2 separate regions of the Homo sapiens genome follow, and region 2 is linked to region 1. Evidence: promoter capture Hi-C in 16 types of primary human blood cells and fetal thymus (Javierre and others, 2016). All regions are on one chromosome and are shown on one strand. The core of a region is centred on a gene start or on the middle of the fragment in contact, and the rest is flanking DNA. Distances in the headings are between cores, read along the strand shown.

Evidence for each region. Contacts are between HindIII fragments. The CHiCAGO score rates a contact against its expected background, and 5 or more counts as called.
Region 2: a contact is called between a fragment that was not itself captured here and the fragment with the promoter of SLC34A1 in region 1, in 1 of 17 cell types (naive B cells). The highest score is 5.1, in naive B cells.

Annotation. Positions count from the first base shown.
Region 1 is chr5:177,382,173-177,386,866 of GRCh38, reverse strand. SLC34A1 (solute carrier family 34 member 1) reads right to left here and starts at 2,433. Exons shown (of 13, transcript NM_003052.5): 1 at 2,380-2,433; 2 at 1,017-1,172; 3 at 731-880; 4 at 518-646; 5 at 301-444. The coding sequence starts at 1,125. The HindIII fragment of the contact is 19,795 bases long and covers 1-4,694 here.
Region 2 is chr5:178,185,024-178,189,717 of GRCh38, reverse strand. GMCL2 (germ cell-less 2, spermatogenesis associated) reads left to right here and starts at 2,347. Exons shown (of 1, transcript NM_001358008.2): 1 at 2,347-4,694. The coding sequence starts at 2,419. The coding sequence ends at 3,999. The HindIII fragment of the contact is 3,617 bases long and covers 4-3,620 here.

The DNA.
Region 1 (4,694 bases), core at 1,184-3,683:
GCTGCCCTGTCTGGACTGCAGTGTCGGCGCCCACCTGAGAGTTCCCGCCTGCCCTTCCAATGCCCTGGCCTACGGATTCCTGACTTGCCCAGACAAACTACCATCGGGGAAGCCAGTTCCTTGCCATAAATCATCTGGGTCACATACAGCTACAGTTGGGCTCCTCTCATGTCCCTGGCTGATACAGGAGTCAAGCTGAATGGAGGCCAGCCTTACTGGGGTCACGCTCCCCATTTGCCACCCTTCCCAGCTCCTGGGGTGCCCCTCCAAGCTCTTCCCCACCCTGGTGGGCCAACTCACAGCCAGAGGAGACCATGCTGACGATGATGGATGTGGAGGTGCTGGAGCTCTGCACCAGCACGGTCACCAGGATCCCCACCACCAGCCCGGCCACCGGGTTGGACAGGATGGCGTTATCCTTGAAGATGTCACCAGCCACCTTCCCTGGGGAGCATGAGCCAGCGTTGTCCAAGGCCCTTCAGGAACCCCTCCCAGGTCTCCTCCACCCGGGCCCTACCTCCAGCCAGCTGGAAGGCCGAGCTGAGCATGTCCAGGGAGCAGACGAAGAGGTAGAGGAAGGTGAGCATCAGTGGCACCTTGAGCAGCATGGCGCCAGCCTGGCGCAGCTTGGGGACCAGCCTGGACTCTGGATGGGGGAAGCCATGAGCATAGTGGGCAGAGGCCAGGGCAGGGACTGCTGCCGCCTCTGCCACCCCCAGCCCAGGCCCACCTGGCTTCTGCTCCTCCTCCAGGGCCAGCTTGGCAGGCAGTGGTTCATGGCGCTCCAGGACCTCCCCACAGGGGCAGGTGTGCTCAGCAAGGGCCACAGGGCCCAGGCTGGGGAAGGCATAGGCAGAGGTCCCCGGGATCCTGTGTAGGACTAGGGAGGGAGCCTGGTCAGGAGCCCCAGGGCCCCAAAGTGGGGAGGCGGGGAGGAACAGGCGGGGGAAGTGGCCTCATCCGGGATGTGGGCAACCGTGGGCAACCAGGGTCCAGGGTGTGGGAGCAGCACTTACCCTGAGGGCTGGGCACGTAGGCAAAGGCCGTCCCTCGCATCACATGCCCCCCACGGACTGGGAGTGGGGAGACAGCAGGGGACCCCAGCCTCTCTCCGTAGGACAACATCCTGGGCACCCACTATGAGGTCTGCAGGTCAGTGGGTCTCAGCAACGCTGAATGACAATAGCTGTGTCCGGGACACTCATGCCCACACACCCTCACCTGCACAAACCCCCATGGCGCATGATTCCAAATACACACCTAGCAAAGCACACCCTCCATCCTCACCACACACACACACCCCTCCGAGACTCACACGCACAAACACACACCCAGCAAACCACACCCTCCATCATCACCACCACAGCCCTCCGAGACTCACATGCAGACTCACATGTGCACATCTGTGCTGGGCACCTGCATGTGAGTCTCGGAGGGGTGTGTGTGGTGGTGGTGAGGTGATCATTCATTCACCATTCACTCATTCAATGAGTATTATTGAGCTCTAGCCCAGGCTCCGAACCAGAGGCTTGGATATAGCATTGATAAAAGACACTGAGAACTGAGGACGCCCAGCCTGTTTGGGGCTGGAGGGGGCCAGGGAATACGTGGTGTTGGCAGTGGCTGCAGGTGTGGGCTGGGGCTGGGCCGGGCTTCAGTTTTGCCCACCTGGAGAGCAAGGAGGAGCTGCAGACACCTGCCTTCTCATGGGGTCAGCTGGGCACACACGGAGATCCCCTGGGCCGGATCCCGAGTTCCTGGGTTCCCCTCACAATGAATTCCTTTCCCCATCCACCCCCTCAAGGGGCAATGAACAAACACTGACAGGCTTGCCTCAGCCCCCCCTTGTCCCCGCACTGCCCCAGGAGTCTTGGCTATTGGGGTGGAGTGCCCTGATCTGCCTCAGCACTCCCCGCATTGTCCCAGCGTCCTTGGCTGTTGTAGGGGTGTGAAGAGTTGAATTCAAGTCCTGAAGGAGCAGGAGTCCTTTTTTTTTTTTTTTTTGAGATGGAGTTTCACTCTTACCGCCCAGGCTGGAGTGCAGTGGCACAATCTTGGCTCACTGCAACCTCTGCCTCGTGGGTTCAAGCGATTCTCCTGCCTCAGCCTCCCAAGTAGCTGGGATTACAGGTGCCTGCCACCACACCTGGCTAATTTTTTGTATTTTTAGTGCAAACTCGACCTCAGGTGATCCGCCCACTCGGCTTCCCAAAGTGCTGGGATTACAGGTGGGAGCCACCGCGATTGGCTGGACTGACATGTTATATGGGGCGCGGTGGGGGTGGGCGCAGATAGGACACAGATGAAGGGGCTGGGGTGCTGGGCTGTTTCCTACTCAGAGCTGGGGGTGGGGTTGGGATGTGAGGGTCCTGGGCTCACCTTAGAATTCTGTGTTTCAGCTTCTGCTCAGCAGCTCAATGAAGCCTCCAGGACCCTGAGGAGAACTGAGACCCTCCTCTTTATACTCTTGGGTCAAGGGCAAAGTCCCTGGAACCCTAGCTGCCCTCCCTCTGTCCCCCAATTAACCTCACCCCTGAGATTCCTCCCAGTTAATTGCTAATCGTCAGCTCTGCATGGGGAATCTATGGTCAGGTTCTTCCCATCAACCACGACCCAGACACATCCCCCGCCTGCAGGCAGAGACCCTGATGCCACTCAGCACCTTGTTCCCAGGGTCCCCTCGTTCCTGGCCTGACAGGACTCCCCAGGGAATGACCCAAACATCCTATGGCCTTCGGAGGTTGCAGTGAGCCAAGATCGTGCCACTGCACTCCAGCCTGGGTGACAGAGTGAGACTGTCTCAGAAAAACCAAACCAAACCAAACAAAAACATCCTATGGCCTTGCCAAGCGTCGGGGTGTCTGTAAGTCTCCCAGGGGGAGCTCAGAGGAGAGGGAGTGTGAGATGAGGACCTAAGCTGGAAAGGCCGTGGAATGTTGAATCGTGGCAGGTCTCTAATGCCCGACCATGGGTCCAGGATGTGAGTCTGAGTGAATGTGGAGCCGCTGGCCAGACTGGGATGGGCCTGATCTGCCTTTTAGAATGGCCCCCGGGGTGGAACCCGGATATATGGAAGGGAGCCTGGAAGCGGAGGGGCCAGTTAAGAGGCTAATGGTCCAGGCAGGAGATGATGAGGCCTGAACTCCGATGGGAACGGAGGGGCTGGGGAGGACAGGTGCATCCCAGGGACATCTGACCAGTAGAATTGGTGACGGGGAGGGAGAGAGGAAAAGGAAATAGATGGGAGTCGGGTCTCTGGATCTTTGGCTAGGGCTGGGTTCATGCCCAGGTAGGAGGGTGTCGCTGAGTCACGGAAATGCAATCAGTTCTCAGTTCTTGTGTCAGAATCTCTGGGTCCTTGGGCTTGAAGGTGCTGTTAATGTCACATCGAGTGTCTCCACCTATGAGCAAACTGACACCCCCACAGCGGGCCCAGAGACCCCGGCCCACGTGACCTGTTTCTCTCCATTCCCCCGTGCAGTTCAGACCCTTGGCAGGAGCAGCTGAATCCAAGGTGCTCCTGGTGAACTGGGGGTGTTTCTCCTTTTTAATAAGGTTGTGCTTTTTGATATTTTTGAAGTTTGCCTTCCCTGCTGTCACGGAGCTCTGGGTTTAGTGGGGGAGGCAGTTAGCTATCGATCAAATCCATCAAGAGATATAATTCCAAAATGCTGCTGATTTACACAGCCACCACTTCTAAAGATTTATTTTGGGGCTACAGCCCTAGTGAAAGTGAGAAAATGCTGGATCTGACCAGAGCTGCTGTTGGGACTCATACAAGCAGCAGAGAAGGCAGCTCCATTCCAGCACCAACGTATCTCTTGCCAGCCTCTCTGCCATTTCAGCACCTCCCTGCCTACTGCCTGCCTCCTCCCTGGCCAGTGACAGAGTCTGTGTGTCCCCCTGGGTGGTGAGTCCCACCTTGTCTGTGCACCTGGGCTCTGGCCATGGCCTCCCCAGACCTTTTCTGGGCTGAGAGCCTGCCTGGTTGGGGGTGTCTCGCGTTGAGAAAGGAACCCAGCAGGAGGAGCTGTTTTGGAGGGAAGGTGCCAAGCTCCGTCTGCTCAGGCTTTCTGAGCGGCCTCTGGCACGAGCAGTTGGCTCTGCAAGCCAGAAGCACGCACTGTGCTTCTCACCCCAAACCTGGGCCTCCTCCTTCTTCCTGATCTTGGTGAGCGGCACACCGTCCATCCATCTGGGTCGGGCACCAAGCAGACATCCTTGCTGTTTCCTTCCCCTCCACTTCCTCGTTTCCAACTCAGTCCTCAATTCTCCCAATTTTATTGCTCCAGGAGCTCCCTGATCTTTTGCTGTTAGCCATCTCTGTGGCCACCTCCCTGGACTGGGCCTGTCATCTCCCCTGGGTCATTGCGGTCACTTCCCAAGTGCTCTGTCCATTTCTGCCCTTGCTGCCCCTGATCCATGCTCCAAAGCAGCAGACAGCAATCTTTTCAAAATGCCAAACTAGGCCGGGCGCGGTGGCTCACGCCTGTAATCCCAGCACTTTGGGAGGCCAAGGCAGGTGGATCACCTGAGGTCAGGAGTTCGAGACCAGCCTGGCCAACATGGTGAAACCCCATGTCTACTAAAAATACAAAAAAATTAGCGGGGCGTGGTGGCGGGCACCCGTAATCCCAGTTACTCGGGAGGCTGAGGCAGGAGAATCACTTGAACTCAGGAGGCAGAGGTTGCAG
Region 2 (4,694 bases), core at 563-3,062, 800 kb before region 1:
GCTTAACTTTTTCAACCAATTGCCAATCAGAAAACCTTTGAATCACCTATGACCTGTAACTCCCCTGGAGTTGTCCTGCCCTTATAGGCTGAAGCAATGTGTACTTTACATGTATTGATTGATGTATTTGCTTGTAACCTCTGTCTCCCTAAAATGTATAAAACCAAACTATAACCCAACCATCTGAGGCACACTTTCTCAGGACCTCTTGAGACTGTACCCCAGGTCATGGTCACTCATATCAGCTGAGAATAAACTTCTTTTTTTTTTTTTTTTTTTGAGATGGAGTCTCGCTCTGTCACCCAGGCTGGAGTGCAGTGGCGCAAGCTCTGCCTCCCGGGTTCACGCCAGAGAATAAACTTCTTTAAACATTTTACAGAGCTTTTTTTTTTTTTTTTTTTTTTTTTTGGTCAACATAGACCATTCACCTGGCCCCTTAACTCCAACAGAAACTCCAGATTTGCCTTTGGAATCAGGAGGCTGAGCTTCCTGACTTCCCAACTCTGGGATTTAGAACAAGTCACTTTCCCTATTGAAACCTCTGTTTTCTTCATCTGGGAATGGGGCAGGCACTCACATAGGTTTGAGGAAGCCACAGGGCTGGTCACTCTTCACTTGTGTCCAGCGTCCCATCCACCTCCCTGGCATGACCTTGCCTCCCCCTGCAGCACTGGCCCATCTAGGGCTCCCCACACCTACATATCTGGCCCTGATGCCCCTCGCCAATCTCTGCCCCCACTGTACCAAAGATGGAGCCCCGCATGGCGACTCCTACATTGCTCTGGGGGCACAGACCTCCATCTGCCTGGAACAGCCTCCCACCTTCCTCATCAAGTCCTGTTTTCTTACAGGAAGACACCCACATGCCCCAGCCATCCCATCCCCAAGGACTGGCCAAGCAGTTCCAGCACACCCCTCGGGTGGTCTCAGTGTGTGCCCTTCTCCAGTTCCTCCGGGTCTGGGCCTGGGTCAGCCCTTTACACACACGGGGTTCCCAACAAGTAGCTTCCAGATGGCCTGGTGAGGCTGCAGGGCAAATTTCCAGGACCATGCCCCACTTCTCCACTCCATCCCCCAAGGACAAAAGCCTCCTCAATTCCGACATCCTAATCCTGCTGCCCCTGTCTCCACAGATCCTCCCCACAGAGAATCCCTGCCTATCCTGCCCAGGCCCTCTGCTTGCTTCTGCCTTCCCAGACCGGCTGCAGTGATCATTTCACCCAGCCATGGTCACTTTCACCATATTGGCCAGGCTGGTCTTGAACTCCTGACCTCGTGATCTGCCCACCTCGGCCTCCCAAAGTGCTGGGATTACAGGTGTGAGCAGCCACCGTACCTGGCTTGACTTCAAGTCTTTATTCTATTTTATTTTATCTTATTATTTTTTTCTGGAGACGGAATTTCGCTCTTGTCGCCCAGGCTGGAATGTAATGATGCGATCTTGGCTCACTGCAACTTCTGCCTCCTGGGTTCAAGCAGTTCTCCATTTCAGCCTCCCGAAAAGCTGGGATTACAGGCGTGCACCACCACACCTGGCTAAATTTTATATTATTAGTAGAGATGGGGTTTCACCATGTTGGCCAGGCCAGTCTCAAACTCCTGACCTCATGTGATCCACCCACCTTGGCCTCCCAAAGTGCTGGGATTATAGGCATGAGCCACCGAGCCTGGCCTATTTTATTTTATTATTTTATTTTATTTTTGTGCCTGGTCGCAAATTTACATTGGACTGGTTAGGCTCAAGCGTCTGGTACACACATTTTCCTTTGTCAGGTCTTGCAAATAAAACTTTGCTCCTAGGGAAGTGGTCCTTCTAAAACGGACCTTGGTTTTGGCTGCCAGATGAGAATTGCTTCCAGCAATGAAGAATGCTGTCCAAGGAGTTCAAGACCACCCGGAGAAACACAGTGAAACCTTGTCTCTAAAAGAAATTGTTTTAGGCCGGAGGCAGTGGCTCACGCCTGTAGTCCCAGCACTTTGGGAGGCCAAGGTAAGAGGATCACCTGAAGTCAGGAGTTTGAGACCAGCCTGGCCAACATGGGGAAACCCCGCCTCTACTAAAAATACAAAAATTACCCAGGTGTGGTGGCGGGCGCCTGTAATCCCAGCTACTCAGGAGGCTGAGGCAGGAGAATCACTTGAACCCGCGAGGCAGAGGTTGCAGTGAGCCGAGATCGCGCCACTGCACTCCAGCCTGGGCGACAGAGCAAGACTCCGTCTCAAAAAAAAAAAAAAAAAAAAATTGTGGGGGAGGGGTGCGGAGGTTGGAGGCGGCAGTGTCCGCTGCAACGGTTGGGGCTGCGCGTGAGAAGGTGGCGGTGTAGGCACCTGTGCTCGGGGAAGGCTGGCGGCGGCGGCCGGGCCATGGCCAGAGACCCCCTCCTCTGGGCTCCCTGAAGTCCTGGGGAGCCGTGACCCATGGGATCGTCGAGCAGCCGGGTGCTGGGCCAGCCGAGGCGAGCCCTTGCCCAGCAGGAACAGGGTGCCAGGGCCAGGGGCTCGGCCCGGAGGCCGGACACTGGAGACGATGCGGCGAGCTACGGCTTCTGTTACTGCCCGGGCAGTCACAAGCGCAAGCGGAGCAGCGGGGCCTGCCGCTACTGTGACCCGGACTCGCACAGGGAGGAGCATGAGGAGGAGGGGGACAAGCAGCAGCCGCTCCTCAACACCCCTGCAAGGAAAAAATTAAGGAGTACATCCAAATATATTTATCAAACATTATTTTTGAATGGTGAAAACAGTGACATTAAGATTTGTGCTCTAGGAGAAGAATGGCGATTACACAAAATATATTTATGTCAATCTGGCTACTTTTCTAGTATGTTCAGTGGTTCTTGGAAAGAATCCAGCATGAATATTATTGAACTGGAGATTCCTGACCAGAACATTGATGTAGACGCACTGCAGGTTGCGTTTGGTTCACTGTATCGAGATGATGTCTTGATAAAACCCAGTCGAGTTGTTGCCATTTTGGCAGCAGCTTGTATGCTGCAGCTGGATGGTTTAATACAGCAGTGTGGTGAGACAATGAAGGAAACAATTAATGTGAAAACTGTATGCGGTTATTACACATCAGTAGAGATCTATGGATTAGATTCTGTAAAGAAAAAGTGCCTTGAATGGCTTCTAAACAATTTGATGACTCACCAGAATGTTAAACTTTTTAAAGAACTCGGTATAAATGTCATGAAACAGCTCATTGGTTCCTCTAACTTATTTGTGATGCAAGTGGAGATGGATGTATACACCACTCTAAAAAAGTGGATGTTCCTTCAACTTGTGCCTTCTTGGAATGGATCTTTAAAACAGCTTTTGACAGAAACAGATGTCTGGTTTTCTAAACAGAGAAAAGATTTTGAAGGTATGGCCTTTCTTGAAACTGAACCAGGAAAACCATTTGTGTCAGTATTCAGACATTTAAGGTTACAATATATTATCAGTGACCTAGCTTCTGCAAGAATTATTGAACAAGATGGTATAGTACCTTCAGAATGGCTGTCTTCTGTGTATAAACAGCAGTGGTTTGCTATGCTGCGGGCAGAACAAGACCGTGAGGTAGGGCCTCAAGAAATCAATAAAGAAGACCTAGAGGGAAATAGCATGAGGTGTGGTAGAAAGCTTGCCAAAGATGGTGAATACTACTGGTGTTGGACGGGTTTTAACTTCGGCTTTGACCTACTTGTAATTTACACCAATGGATACATCATTTTCAAACGCAATACACTGAATCAGCCACGCAGCGGGTCTGTCAGTTTACGGCCTCGAAGGAGCATAGCATTTAGATTACGCTTGGCTTCTTTTGATAGTAGTGGAAAACTAGTATGTAGTAGAACAACTGGCTATCAAATACTTATACTTAAAAAGGATCAGGAACAAGTGGTGATGAACTTGGACAGCAGGTTTCTGACCTTCCCTTTATATATCTGCTGTAACTTCTTGTATATATCACCAGAAAAAGGAATTGAAAATAATCGTCACCCAGAAAATCCAGAAAACTGAAGATCTCATCAGTTGGAAACAGTAGCACTTTGAAAACTTTCAGGCCAGCTTTAATTTAATGGCCCTACTGATATTCACATCTAAGTTGACTAACAATGACAAAGGCCTTATGAACTGTACGGACAATACAGAAGACTATTCTTATCCTCATTGCATTTCTATGCATATACAAAAAAAATCATTTTAAAGCCAAGAAAATATCTGTCAAACCATTTCTGTCAGTACGATGTCAACTCATGCTTTTAATTCAGCATCAGCAGAAAATGACTGTAGGTAAATCTCACATTTATCTGCAACAAAATATAGATTTAATTTTTAGCTTAAACTTTGTTTCTACCTTATGTTAGTGGACCTCAGTTATCCATCTGTAAATTTATTTTTATTTGGCTAAAATAATCTAAAAGAATAATTTGGATGGCCAATTAGAAATGCTCTTTTGAGCTGGGGCATTTAAAGCTTTCCTTTAATATTTTTACCTGCTCATTATGATTCCTCCTTTTAGTCTAATATCTTTCCAGTTCATACTTGTTTTTAATCATTAAATACTTTCTTCCTGGTTTGGAGACTAAGCTGAGAAACTTTTTTTAAACTTAAGCATTGTCATATGCTATTTTTTAAAATTTGGCTTTCCTAGGATTTTAAGAACAATGAAAGTTAGCTTCACACCTTCAAATGATCTTGAATGCGTGAAAAAT